Linked DNA regions of Homo sapiens: all the other regions are linked to region 2. Evidence: promoter capture Hi-C in 16 types of primary human blood cells and fetal thymus (Javierre and others, 2016). All regions are on one chromosome and are shown on one strand. Each heading gives the region's core, a stretch centred on a gene start or on the middle of the fragment in contact. The rest is flanking DNA. Distances are from core to core; before and after follow the strand shown. Region 1 holds the start of LOC105370534 (a long non-coding RNA gene). Region 2 holds the start of PPP1R36 (protein phosphatase 1 regulatory subunit 36). Region 3 overlaps LOC105370534 (a long non-coding RNA gene).

Region 1 (4,353 bases), core at 1,691-4,190, 350 kb after region 2:
TTGCCCCTTGCCTCTGCCCTAACTCTTCCTTCAAGGCCCAGCTCAAGTTCTACGAGTTCCATGAACTCACCACCCACTGCCCCAGCCATTGATAATCACCCCCTCCTCTTGATTCCTAGATTAGTGGTCTGTACGTATGGTGACCATATAATTTATCATCCAGATTGTATATTTGCTTGTTAAAAGGGTCACAATTACTCTGAAACCACAGGTATGAACTGGGACTGTCCAGGACAAGCTGGGCCATATGGTCAACCTACTTATATATTACCCTTTGGCACTTGGTATGTGTTATCTGGTAGTTTTTATTTGTTTGTTAAAATGTATGTATGTATTTAAATGCATATATCTAATCTCCTCAAGATAGTAAATCATCCGAGTATAAATTATGTATTCTCTCTGTGTGTTCTCCTGGTGCCTGGCCAGCGTCTTACACATAATATACACTAAAAGTTGTTTGTTCATCATGATGATGTCTTTACTCTGTTGTTTAGGAATGAAACATGGGTTAGGAATAAACCTTCAAATCAGAAAATTCACTACCCAATTTTCCTTCTGGCAAAAAGACAAAAACCTCTATGTCCCCAGAAACAGATAGTGACATCAAAAAATGTCCTCAAGATTTTGCTGAGGACTGGATTGAGGCCTCTGGCACAAGGCTCTGCCCTGTTGCCTTGTTGCTGAATAATGTCATTCGTCTGTATCTTGACGCATCCTCTTTGCATTGCTTTGTCACACAGCAGAAAGATAACAGCCCCAACCAGAGGACTTACAGAAATCAAATCAAAATAAAATTATTTCTAAGGAAATGCTGTGGTGGTTAACTTACCTGAAACCAAATGCTTGGAAGTCTTGACTTGCTTGACTTATTTTGCTTAATTAACACCTGGCCCCAGTTCAGCATTATCCCTGCTCAACCACCAGGAACTAAAGAAAGAGAAGGAAGAAGATCTAAAAACCAAAAGAAAGACAGCAGTCATGAGAGCGAACGCTCTGAAAATGAACTAGAACACAAACTAAAAAACGAAAGACATGTGGGTAAGAGATAATTAGGACAGAATCATCTCTCAGGAGTAAACACTTAACAAAATAATGCAACAAAAGAGTAGCAGGTCAGAATCACATGGGCGTGTGAGTCGATGTTGAAAAGCCCCAGAAGGGAACACCATTTTGTTCAAACTACTGACAGCTTGGGCCTTTTTAAAATTCCTCCTACCAAATAGGTGATGATAGTAGCATTCATTGATTTGTACATGGATGATATAAGGATGTTTCCCTTTGACTACTCCTCTAAAATTTGGTTCTCAGAGAGAGATTTCACCTGTAAATGTCTGGTCTAGCATTTTTGCTTGTATCTGCGAGAGTCTCCGAGCCCCTCATAACATCAGTAGTCTTAATACGCACAATAATCTGTCTAGAGATTCTCTAAATATTCTCAAGTTTGATAAAGAGCTTCTTAGAGTCTGAGCAACGTAATGAGAACTTGTCTCTACTAAAAACAACAACAACAACAACAACAACAACAATTAGCCAGGCAAAGTGGTGTGCACCTGTAATCCTAGCTACTCAGGAGGCTAAGGCTGGAGGATGGCTTGAGCCCGGGAGGCAGAAGTTGCAGTGTGCCGAGATCACGCCACTGCACTCCAGTTTGGGCAACAGTGAGGGAACATCACACACACACACACACACACACACACACACACACACACATACGGCTCATTAGAAAAGATAAAAGATGGCCAGGTGCGGTGGCTCACATCTGTAATCCTAGCACTTTAGGAGACTGAGGCGGGCGAATCACCTGAGGTCAGGAGTTCGAGACCAGCCTGGCCAACATGGCAAAACCCTGTCTCTACTAAAAATACAAAAATTAGCTGGGCGTGGTGGCCCACATCTATAATCCCAGCTACTTGGGAGGCTGAGGCAGGAGAATTGCTTGAACCTGGGAGGCAGAGGTTGCAATAAGCCGAGATCATGCCACTGCACTCCAGCCTGAGCAAAAGAGTGAAACTCCATCTCAAAAAAAAAAAAAAAAAAAAAAAGATAAAAGATGACTCTTAACACTTCCTTCTACTTATGATCTTTTAATACCTGGACTTCTCTGGAATTATTGGATATATTGACCTCTTGGAGTTCCCAGTTCTTCCTTTGGTTCTTTTTAACTTGAATGAAGTCATCACTTGCCTTGGAAGATTGAAGTCAGGAATAGGCAACTTAAATAGTAGATGTGCCACGAAAGTGTATTTTCTATCTCATTTGTCCTATCATTCCGCTTCCTTTTCCCTTTATCTCTCATTCCCTTCTTTCTACTTGTGATTTTCTTTCACCCTTTCCCTCTACTCCCAATCTTTCCTTGAGTATAGTTAGAGCCCTTGGTGGCAGGTAGGGTCGAACAGTGTTGATTTAAGCATTGATCTTAGATGCAAAGGAGTATATTAAGTGACTTCTTAAGACTTTTCTTAACTCTGGGATTCGGTTGCAGTTAATTACCATCCCTTGATTACTAGCCACTTGTTCTTACATCTTTATTAGGTCCATTGGAATCATCTTCATCATAGCTAACATTTATGGAATACTTAATACATATGTCAGACCGTGTGTAATGTGGATTCTCTCCTTTAATTCTCACAGCAACTCCATGAAGAAGGTGCATTCCCATTTTGCAAATGAGGGAAAGGGAACAGAGAAGTTAGTACCTTTCCCACAGTGTTTCATCACGGCTAATAAGTCACAGAGCCGGGCTGCGAGTCCACATTTGTATGTCTCCATACCACCACTTTGGTAGAAAATGTGATCCTGGTATATGGTAGGAAGAAGCTTGAGCAATTTAAAATCCATTATACAACCTTCATAAGCGCTGGGCCGAGGCATAACTATGAAGCCAATATCCCCTGACTAAAGGGTCAAAACTTTATCCTCTTCATGAAAGGATGTGACATTACTTAGATCAATGCAACCTCCCCTATGTACCACCCCTTACAAACTTGTTTCTCAGCATTTCTGCACTTTTGCACATGTTGGTCCTTGTGTCGGGGGAACACCCTGCCCAACATTCCCTAATGTCTAAGCTTAAAGAGTCTGCGGAGGGATCAACACTTCTGGAAAATCATTGCTGAGACTGTGTCCTCTCCTCTCTCTGACCTCTCCCAGGCTGCCCTTTATCTGGGCCCCAGGAGCATCCCGAAGAGCAGTTATTACACTGTATTGTGATCACTGGTTTTTCTTGCCTTGCCCCCTGACTGTGAAAGGTGGGCATGAGGCAGATACCCCAAACATTATATGAGTGAAATTGAATTCCTGAGCTTTAATATCATCATATTACTTCTTCCAGGTATATTTACATTTTGAGCACCATTCTGAATTTTGAAATGAAATGCTCTCTGATGTAGACACCTTGCCTGTGAAGGGTCACTACCTTCCTTCAGCCCAAGTTGACAAAAACCAGTATGTATGTATGTATGTATGTATGTATGTATGTATGTATGTATGTATTTAGAGGCAAGGTCTCTGTTTTCCAGGCTGGAGTGCAATGGTGCAATCAAAGCTCGCTGCAGTATCGACCTCCAAGGCTCAAGTGATCCTCCCACCTCAGCCTCCCAAGTAGCTGGGATTACAGGCACACGCCCCCACACCCACCGCCCAGTTAATTTTTGTATTTTTTGTAAAGACGGAGTCTTGCCATGTTGCCCAGGCTAGTCCTGAACTTCTGAGCTCAAGTGATCCTCCTGCCTTGGCCTCCCAAAATGCTGGGATTACAGGCATGAGCCATCACACCCAGCTGGATCCAATTATTTATAAAAGAGATACATAAAATAGTGTATAGAACCAATTGAAGGCCGGGTGTGATGGCTCACACCTGTAATCCCAACACTTTGGGAGGCTGAGGCAGGTGGATCACCTGAGGTCAGGAGTTCAAGACCAGCCTGACCACCATGGTGAAACCCCATCTCTACTAAATGTAAAAAATTAGACCGGTGTGGTGGCACATGCCTGTAATCCTAGCTACTTGGGAGGCTGAGGCAGGAGAATCGCTTGAACCTGGGAAGCAGAGGTTGCAGTGAGCCGAGATTGCGCCATTGGACTCCAGCCTGAGCAACAAGAGTGAAACTCCGTCTCAAAAAAAAAAAAAAAAAAGAACCAATTGAAGTCAGGAGGCTGTTGCTAAACTTCCAGGAATGAAGTAACAAACTGCTAAGTTTATAGGTCATTTCCTAGAGAACAAGGAGGTGTTAAATTGGATGATATTAGGGCATGTCCTTCTTGTTGAGTCATCCATGTCTTAGGCAGAATCTTTCCTCTGGTGGGCACAGAATGAAGACATGATTTAGCAATTAATTTATTGGTAATTTATTA
Region 2 (4,338 bases), core at 197-2,696:
ATTATGTCCCTCTATCACATGCGAAATAACTTCTCCTTTAATTTTTAAGTAGTTATTGTTTTGGGCTCTCAACTTTTATTTTTACCTAAGTTTTGTACATTAGACAGCCTAAGTTTATTCTGTGATAAGATATATAGATCTTAAGTTTTCTATCAGCACTTCTCCACACATTATTGGGATGAACTGAAGAGGTTTACTGACCACTAGTGTGGTCTTCCCGGTAATGATTATGTAGTGATTGGATGCCATCCAGATTCCTTGGTCTGTCTGCATCTTTTCTTGAGCTTTACCTCATTATTTCCCTGTCCTGTCCACCCCAAGTTATGTTCGCTACTTGGTGAAAAGCTCTTGGCATATGGGATAGTCTCCTTTTCAAGCGTGTCATCTTGTAGTAAGAAAGCCTTGCCTGCGGCCAGTATATAAGTGGGTTTCCATATACCTGGACCAACTGAACAGCTGCCAGAATGGACTCAAGTGAGCAGAACATGAATCTAGATGATTACTATTTAATCACTGTAGCCAGTGATTGTGTATTACCAAGTAGTGAGACTGGGAGGGTGGGAATAGAAGAAGCAGTGGGATGACTACTGACATAACTTAAAAGTTAATGGGAGTATATATCCACTACTTATGAGCCTCTCATACCAATTAAGCTGTGGTGATACAAAAGAATATACTAGGCATTCCCAATCATGTTGCATCATCTAGCATTGCTCACTTAGAGCTGGGAGGAAAAAAATCAGCCAGAATCAGCATTATCAACTCCGTTGCAAGAAGGAATTACAAGACACATGATTTGAAAAGTGTAAATGTAAAAATATCAATTGAATACCCATTGACACTAAGCAAGTTTCTTTGTTTTTGAGCAACACTAATTTTGAGTACTTAAGACTGGTGCTTTACACACACCACTCCAAAAATCCACATAACCCCTGATTTGGTGTTTTCAGAAGAAAGATCAGAATAGTCTTGTCCTAGATTCCACAGCTTGTTAAGCAGCACAACTGTTATGAAAACCTTATTTCCGTACCCATGTTCTCTTCCACGAGGCTACCCTGCTTCCCCACCTCAACCCTGCTCTCCCCATCAACCTAGGTTCATCCTGGATTTGAACTTAATAATAGTGCTAATCATGAAAGTTAGGAAGAAATGGATCTTTCTTCCCTATAGGACTGAATGTAGTTACTCCAATTAAAACAGTAAAGTGAATAACTTCATGAAGTTCAAGGTTGGAATGCCATGAAGAATTATGCCCTGGGCGGCTTTACAATGGATAGGCCAATACGTCGCCACGGCTTTTAAGACTGGGAAACGGGGCACCAGGCTGGGCTTTAGAAATCGCTGGAGAAGCCTGGGTGCGGCCGCAGCCCGCGCGGCCTAGGACGGAAGCGACGCCCCGCCCCGCTCCGCGCCCCGGGCAGCCGTGTGCAGGCGCCTGCGGGCGGTATCCTCGGCGACGCCGTATGGCTTCCAGGGCGAGGCCATGTACCGGGTGCCCGAGTTTTATGCGAGGAGGAAGCGGTTAGGTGGGCAGACCCCTTACTTGATGGATGTAAGTGCAGCCTTGGTCGCCCCCATACCCGGGCTGGGCGCAAGGCGGGCCCTGCTGCCCCCAACCGGCGCCGCGCCCCTCGCCCTCCTCCAGAGGCGGGTCGTCGCCTTCGCCCCGGGCTGGCGGTTCTCAAAGACACCTGGCCATATTTGCCTAGAAAAAAAAAAAACTCTGGTGTATTTGACAGATGGTCAGAATTGAATTCTGGCTCCCTGCGCAGGTAGTTAGATATTTACGAAATCCCACCTCACCACCTCTAATTGGTTGGTTGCAAAATAGGGAGACCTACTGCGGGGGAAGCAGCCCCGCTCTGGATAGAAAGGCTGGTGGGTGCTAGCTTCCACGGTGAAAAGGGTGTACTTAACTTTTTGCCACTGCCTGTAAAGGGCAGGCTCAGTGTTGGAGCCCGGAAGTCTCCAGAACCAGACAGCTGAGGCTGTCCTGGGTATCAGTTTATTGTCTGAATTTCAATTAATTGGTAGATTGCTATGATGAGCTATATGTAGTCCCAATTTCCTTCCTATCTTTCGCCCTTCCCTTCCTCCGCTGCTTCTTTCCTCTTTTCCTACTTTCCTCCCTTCCTTTCTCCCTCTCCCTCCTTCCTGCCGTTCTACTGAAGCCACACCTAAAATCAATCAAAGCGATAAAATCCTAGCTTCAAGTTTAACGCTTTAGGATTCTACACTCTTACTGAAAGTGTAAAGAGGGACTAGTAGGAACCATTGTTTTTTGTTTCCTTCTTATTACTTAAAAGATGTGTTAGTAAGTAGGAATTATTGTTAAAGGTTTATTGTGGCATATGGATTGTAAATTGAGCTTTTAATTATTTTTGCTGCAATCATTTCGTTTTACAGCAGTTGGGATTACGATTAGGGATGTGGTACTGGAAAGATGAAACCAGAACTCTTGAATTCAGAAGGTAAAATTTAACAACACTTTATTAGAGTTTTTATAAAAATTACATGTGCCTGGGGGAAAAAAAAGCAACAGAAGAGTATAGAGAATAAATACCCACTGAACCTTTGCCATCTGGAAGGAAACAATCATTTCAGTGAACAGCCTTTCTCTGAACGCTTACCAGCTGCTTCACATGGACCAGACACTGTGCTAATGTTTACCAACTCTTTGAAACAGCTGCATGTTAACCAATTTACAGATGAAGAAACTGAGGTTTCAAAGGGTTCAGCGACTTGAGGAAAATTAAGTGACTTAGCCCAATCACACAGCTCAGAGGTGACTAAGATTATTTAAATGTAGGTCTGTTTGATTTACAGAGTCCATGTTTTTAATTATAAAATTGCCTTTTTGAGTTAGAGAAATATAGTTAACATTAATGGGAACATATTATATCTGCTGCAATAGATGGTGAATCTCACAAGGTAAAATTACTAAATTAGAAAAAACTGATTCTAATCTCTATGAAAAAAGACACTGACTCTTACAAGTGTATAGCTAAATTAATACTAGACACTATCTGTTGTGCACTGATTGTGTGCCAGATATTTGCATATTTTTCCAATTCTTAAAACAACTGTGGAAAGTGAACATTAATGTCCTCATTTTATAGATGAAGAAACAAGGCTCAGGGAGATTAAGCAACTGAACCAAAGTCATACAGCCAGTAAGTAGCAGAACTGATAGTTTGAACCAAGATTTGTCTAATGCTAAAGCCCTTTTCATGTACTCGCTGTCTCCCTCAACTAGACAGTAAGCTCCTCAGTGGCAGGAACTATCTTATTCATCCTCAGGTCTCTGGAGCCAGCTACAGAACTTCTTCAGTAGGTACTCAACAAATATTTATTGAGCATGTTCAAAGAATCTGCTAGATTCAAGCAGAGGAAGAATAGATGCAGGTGATCCATTAGAAGACTAGTTGTAGGATTACAGATAATTATACAAGTAAGCAATAGCGAGAGTTAGAATTAACTCCAGGTTGGTAAAAATAGAAAGGCAAAGGACTAAGAAATACTTAAGAGAGGATTGACAGGATGTTTGGATAGGATTGATAGGATGTGGGGATTGGATGTGAAGGGAGAGGGAAAAGCAGTTGTTTAGATTGGCTCCTAGGTGTCTGACTTGGGTGATCAGGTGGCTGGGATTGCCCTTCACCCATATACAGCATTGAAGTGACAAAACTGGTGGCTGGGTGTGGTGGCTCAAGCCTGTAATCCCAGCACTTTGGGAGGCTGAGGCGGGCAGATCACCTGAGGTCGGGAGTTTGAGACCAGCCTGGCCAACATGGTGAAATCCTATCTCTAATAAAAATACAAAAATTAGCCGGGCGTGATGGCGGGCACCTGTAATCCCAGCTACTTGGGAGGCTGAGACAGGAGAATTGCTGGAATCTGGAAAGCAGAGGTTGCAGTGAGCCAAGATTGAGCCACTGCGCTCCAGCCTGGGCGACAGAGAGAGACTCCATCTCAAAAATAAATAAATAAATAACATGACAAAACTGGCCATGTTTCAGGTTGCTATGACTTGTTCACATTAATACGTCTTGGGCTGTTGGACAAATGGGGGCTGGAGGTCAGGAAAGGAGTTGGCTAAGCAGACATACATAGTTACACTAGATGTTTATAGTTACATTATAAATATAATGACATGTTTCATGATAATTAAACAAATAATTCAAAGGCTTAACATTTTATTAGAGTCAAAATCAAAAGTTTACATTTTATAGAATATGTATTTCAGTATTTCTGAGTAACCCGTCACTTCAAAGCAGTAATTTCAGTTTTCTTTCTCAGGTTTGCCGCAGAAGATTCTGTCCAGTGGCTCCTGAAACA
Region 3 (3,750 bases), core at 946-3,445, 330 kb after region 2:
TCAGCCCGGCTCCTGGAACCCGCCTCTGCCTCCCCGCCCGCCGCTGAGCCTGGGGCGCCTCCATCGTCGTTCATTGCCCCTAACCCCGCGCCACCCCGAGCCCCCTGAGGCGGGAAGGGGGTTGGACTCTAGCTCGGGCCTAATTCGTGCGCCCGGAGAGGCAAGCCTGGTGGCGAAAATGAGCCCTCCAGCCTTTCCCGCCCTGCATCCCCACTGCACACAGTTCAGTTTTTAAAATATATGAAAAGACATTTAGGCCATAGGGTGGGCGCGGCGGGTACCCGGGAGGTGAACCCCCGCCGTGGCGGGTTTGGGAGGGACAGATTGTTCCCGGGGGCTGGTGCATTAGAAAGCGCGCTCCCGGGCGGGCTTCTCTCGGCTGGCGGTGGGAGGGCAGGGGGCGGGCACTGGGCCCGAGGGCCCCACCCCCAGCCCGAGCTCAGTGTCGCTGTTTCTGCCCGAAAACCTAGTGTAATCAGGACGAACCAGGCAAAGCTGGCGGCGCGCAGCCTGCAGTCCCAAGGAGCTCGCACATTGTAGGGACTGTAATCAACAGGCAGGCTGCCACACCTGCCCACTGGCACCTCCTGGCCGGCCCGGGTCTCCGGGCGAGTGGGGGTGCCTCACTACAAGCCTGGATGAGGCGCGGCGCAGCAGGCCAGAGGAAATACTAGAACCGATGGTGCCAAAAAGGCATCTCCGAGTTGCCCCCGGAGAGAAACTCAATAGAACACCGGCAGCTTGCAAGGCAGTACATTTTCTTGACTTTCTAACGATCAAGGTCATTGTTCAGTAAGGTTTACGTGTACGCCTTGAGGTAGCTTTCATCTCTTTTCTCCACCTGCGGTGCCTGGGATGATTTCTCACCAGCTATCAACGCAGGTAATCTCAGGTATTATGGAAATGGCCGTGGAGATTAAAAGCGCATAGATGCAGAAGAAGTTTTAACTTTTACTGATGCTGCCTGGTGTTCTTAACAAGGGAACAGTCTTACTCCTGAGTTATTTGCTTGGGATTATAATTGTGCTGTTTTCCAGAATTCACCCAGGAAAGGGGTGTTTGCCAGATGTTCGAGTTTAGTTTATATATTGAACATATGCAAAGATACTTCACTTCCTGCTGCAGTCCCACTTCTTGAGGGTGGGTATTTAGACACTGAGATGTGCTGAGTGGGACAAACGCCCCAGGTATTACAGAGCCACAGAATTCTTCACTCCACCCTCCTCTTGGCTGGATCCTTATTACAGCTCAATTTTCCAAGAGACACTAGTAATATGGGAAAGAGGATACAAAAACATTCATGGTCATCGATAGATTCGCAGTGATCCCCTCCTCCCCTTTGTTGACAACATTTAAGAATGCATTTTTCTATTACTGAGTTAAAAAGAGAAAGTTCTGTTTTGTGAAAAAAAATGTTTAAAAGTCAAATTCTGGCAAGGAAAGCTCAAGAAAAACAGGCCAACTTCAAAAGCTGAGACTATTATATATCTCAAGAAGAAATCCTTCATCTATTTTTGTTAGAAAAAAATGGAGGGAAATTATGTATTTATGGTTTTTTAAAAGCTTGTATGAATAAACTTATTAGATAAATTCATGGTTCTCTAGAATGGTGGTTCTGCAGCTACGTAATTATATACTATGCAAGCCAGATAATTCCTTAGCTATAGGTCTGTGGCACTGAACTGAATAGTTGCATACATATTTTTCTTTGTAGCCTTAAAATTTATAATTTTCAACCATAAGAAAAAATTAATATGATAAAACTCCAAATCAGCAGACAGATTACCCCAACATTTTACAAACCAGCTCAGCTGCTTTAGTTATCTCCACTTTAGCTGAAAGCTAAATAATTCAATACAACCTCATTTGCTACAGAGCATGTTATCCTGACAGCATCCCCAAATGCTTTACAGCTAATAGAGTTACAGTGAAATGATAAATCAGAACTGAGGAAGAGAGGAAATTTAGGCTTGCAGTGAGGAAAGGGCATTGTCAAATAATAGGGAAAGGGGAACAGATCTCTGTGGCCAGGAATGAGAAATTGGGAGAATAAAAGAAGGGAGAAAGGTTGGGCATGGTGACTCACACCTGTAATCCCAGTACTTTGGGAGGCCGAGGCAGGCGGATCACTTGAGGTCAGGAGTTCAAGACAAGCCTGGCCAACATGGCAAAACCCTATCTCTACTAAAAACACAAAAATTAGCTGGGTGTGGTGGTGCGCACCTGTAATCCCAGCTACTTGGGAAGCTGAGGCAGGAGAATCACTTGAACCTGGGAGGCATAGGCTGCAGTGAGCCAAGATCACGCCACTGCACTCCCACCTGGGTGACAAAGCAAGACTCTGTTTCAAAAAAAAAAAAAAAAAAAGAAGGGAGAAGGAAACACATACATATGTTCGTTATCAAGGTCATCATTGTGGGCAATAGGGATCACGTCTGGAGGGACCTCCTCAGAAGAGTATAGAATACCTCTTGGAATTGTCTATGTGAAGGATAGGAGATTAACCCTCATCCTGGTTGGACAAAGGACTGCCCCCACTGGTCTCCCACCCATGTTGAAAACCTACACTTCCGAGCTACCCAGCAAGCTCCACATAGGCAGTCTGCAGATTTGGAAGAGTTCTGGGGCCAGAAGAGAAGGTGTGCATTTGAGAATAGATGTTGACAGCCAGAGAGTGGGGGGTAAACCTTCACAGAACTGTCTACTCAGGTCTAGCTGAAACCAACAGGTGAGGCCAAGAAGATATAAGTTGAGACTTATGTTAGAATCATCTAACATAAGAGGGAACTTTCACTTTCCATTTCTGTAGTCTTTGAGTTTTTCACAATAAGCTTGTATTGTTTAATAATAAGTAGAGATGATAAATAAATTAAAAAGTAAAGATTGGATGGAGATGGTGGATTGAATACACGCATTTAGCTTCTCTTCTACCCCAAATTTCATTAGAAGATATGTCTGAAACAGGCATCTAAAAGCACAGGAAAATAAGGAAAAGGGGATCAGTGTTCCAACAATGTTCAAGAAATCCAGAGATACAGAAAAGATGCAAGATCTGATTCACAGAGAAACAAAATCAGAGGAAACCAAAACAGATTCAGGAGGAGCAATAGTTTAGGGAAGTTGCAAGCAATAGTTAAAGGATACAAGAGGAGGAGGGGCCCTGAGACAGAATAATTCACTTAGGAGCCTCCTCTGTCCTGCTCACATTAAATATCAGGTGTTTGCCTGCAGGACTTAAAAAAAAAGTTAATGGGGATCCTGGGACCCAAGGGGCAGAGCTCAGGGATCTAGTGACCCCAAGAAATGACAGAAACCATTCACTCTCTTGGGATAGCATGTCCTGACCCTTCTTCACAGCCCCTGAAGATAGGCTATGATAAGCAGAAAGAGGAGACAAGCCCATTCCCACATTAAGGGATGATAGGACAACCACCAAATATCTTATGGGGAGAGGGGAACCAATACCATGAAAGAGAAGCACCAAACCCAACTAATAGAAGGAAATAATATCAGAGGAAACTAAGTTAATAAAAGGAACAAGATAAATGTTAAATAATTTAATTTTAATCAGCAAGTCTTGAAAGGATATTGCATCCACAACAAATAATCAGTGAGAAACCTTAGAAATTTAAAAAGTCATTTCTGATATTGAAAATTCATTAGTTGAGAAGCAGAACAGACCTACTTGAAGGGCAAATTAGTGGAAACAGAAGCCAAAGAAATTTTCCCCAAACACCGGGCAAAAGACAA

Evidence for each region. Contacts are between HindIII fragments. The CHiCAGO score rates a contact against its expected background, and 5 or more counts as called.
Region 1: a contact is called between a fragment that was not itself captured here and the fragment with the promoter of PPP1R36 in region 2, in 1 of 17 cell types (M1 macrophages). The highest score is 5.8, in M1 macrophages.
Region 3: a fragment that was not itself captured here is called in contact with the fragment with the promoter of PPP1R36 in region 2 in 1 of 17 cell types (M1 macrophages); the score reaches 5.1 in M1 macrophages.

Annotation. Positions count from the first base shown.
Region 1 is chr14:64,901,243-64,905,595 of GRCh38, forward strand. LOC105370534 (a long non-coding RNA gene) reads right to left here and starts at 886. Exons shown (of 3, transcript XR_943942.3): 1 at 830-886. The HindIII fragment of the contact is 251 bases long and covers 2,816-3,066 here.
Region 2 is chr14:64,548,515-64,552,852 of GRCh38, forward strand. It overlaps PPP1R36 (protein phosphatase 1 regulatory subunit 36), which reads left to right and starts at 1,447. Exons shown (of 12, transcript NM_172365.3): 1 at 1,447-1,552; 2 at 2,407-2,471; 3 at 4,300-4,338. The coding sequence starts at 1,484. RefSeq lists a silencer at 1,313-1,602. The HindIII fragment of the contact is 10,629 bases long and covers 1-4,338 here.
Region 3 is chr14:64,880,123-64,883,872 of GRCh38, forward strand. It overlaps LOC105370534 (a long non-coding RNA gene), which reads right to left. Exons shown (of 3, transcript XR_943942.3): 3 at 759-1,266. Among named protein-coding and RNA genes, the nearest start is that of SPTB, 2.1 kb to the left of the region's middle. RefSeq lists silencers at 1-65, 116-255, 326-405. The HindIII fragment of the contact is 1,268 bases long and covers 1,562-2,829 here.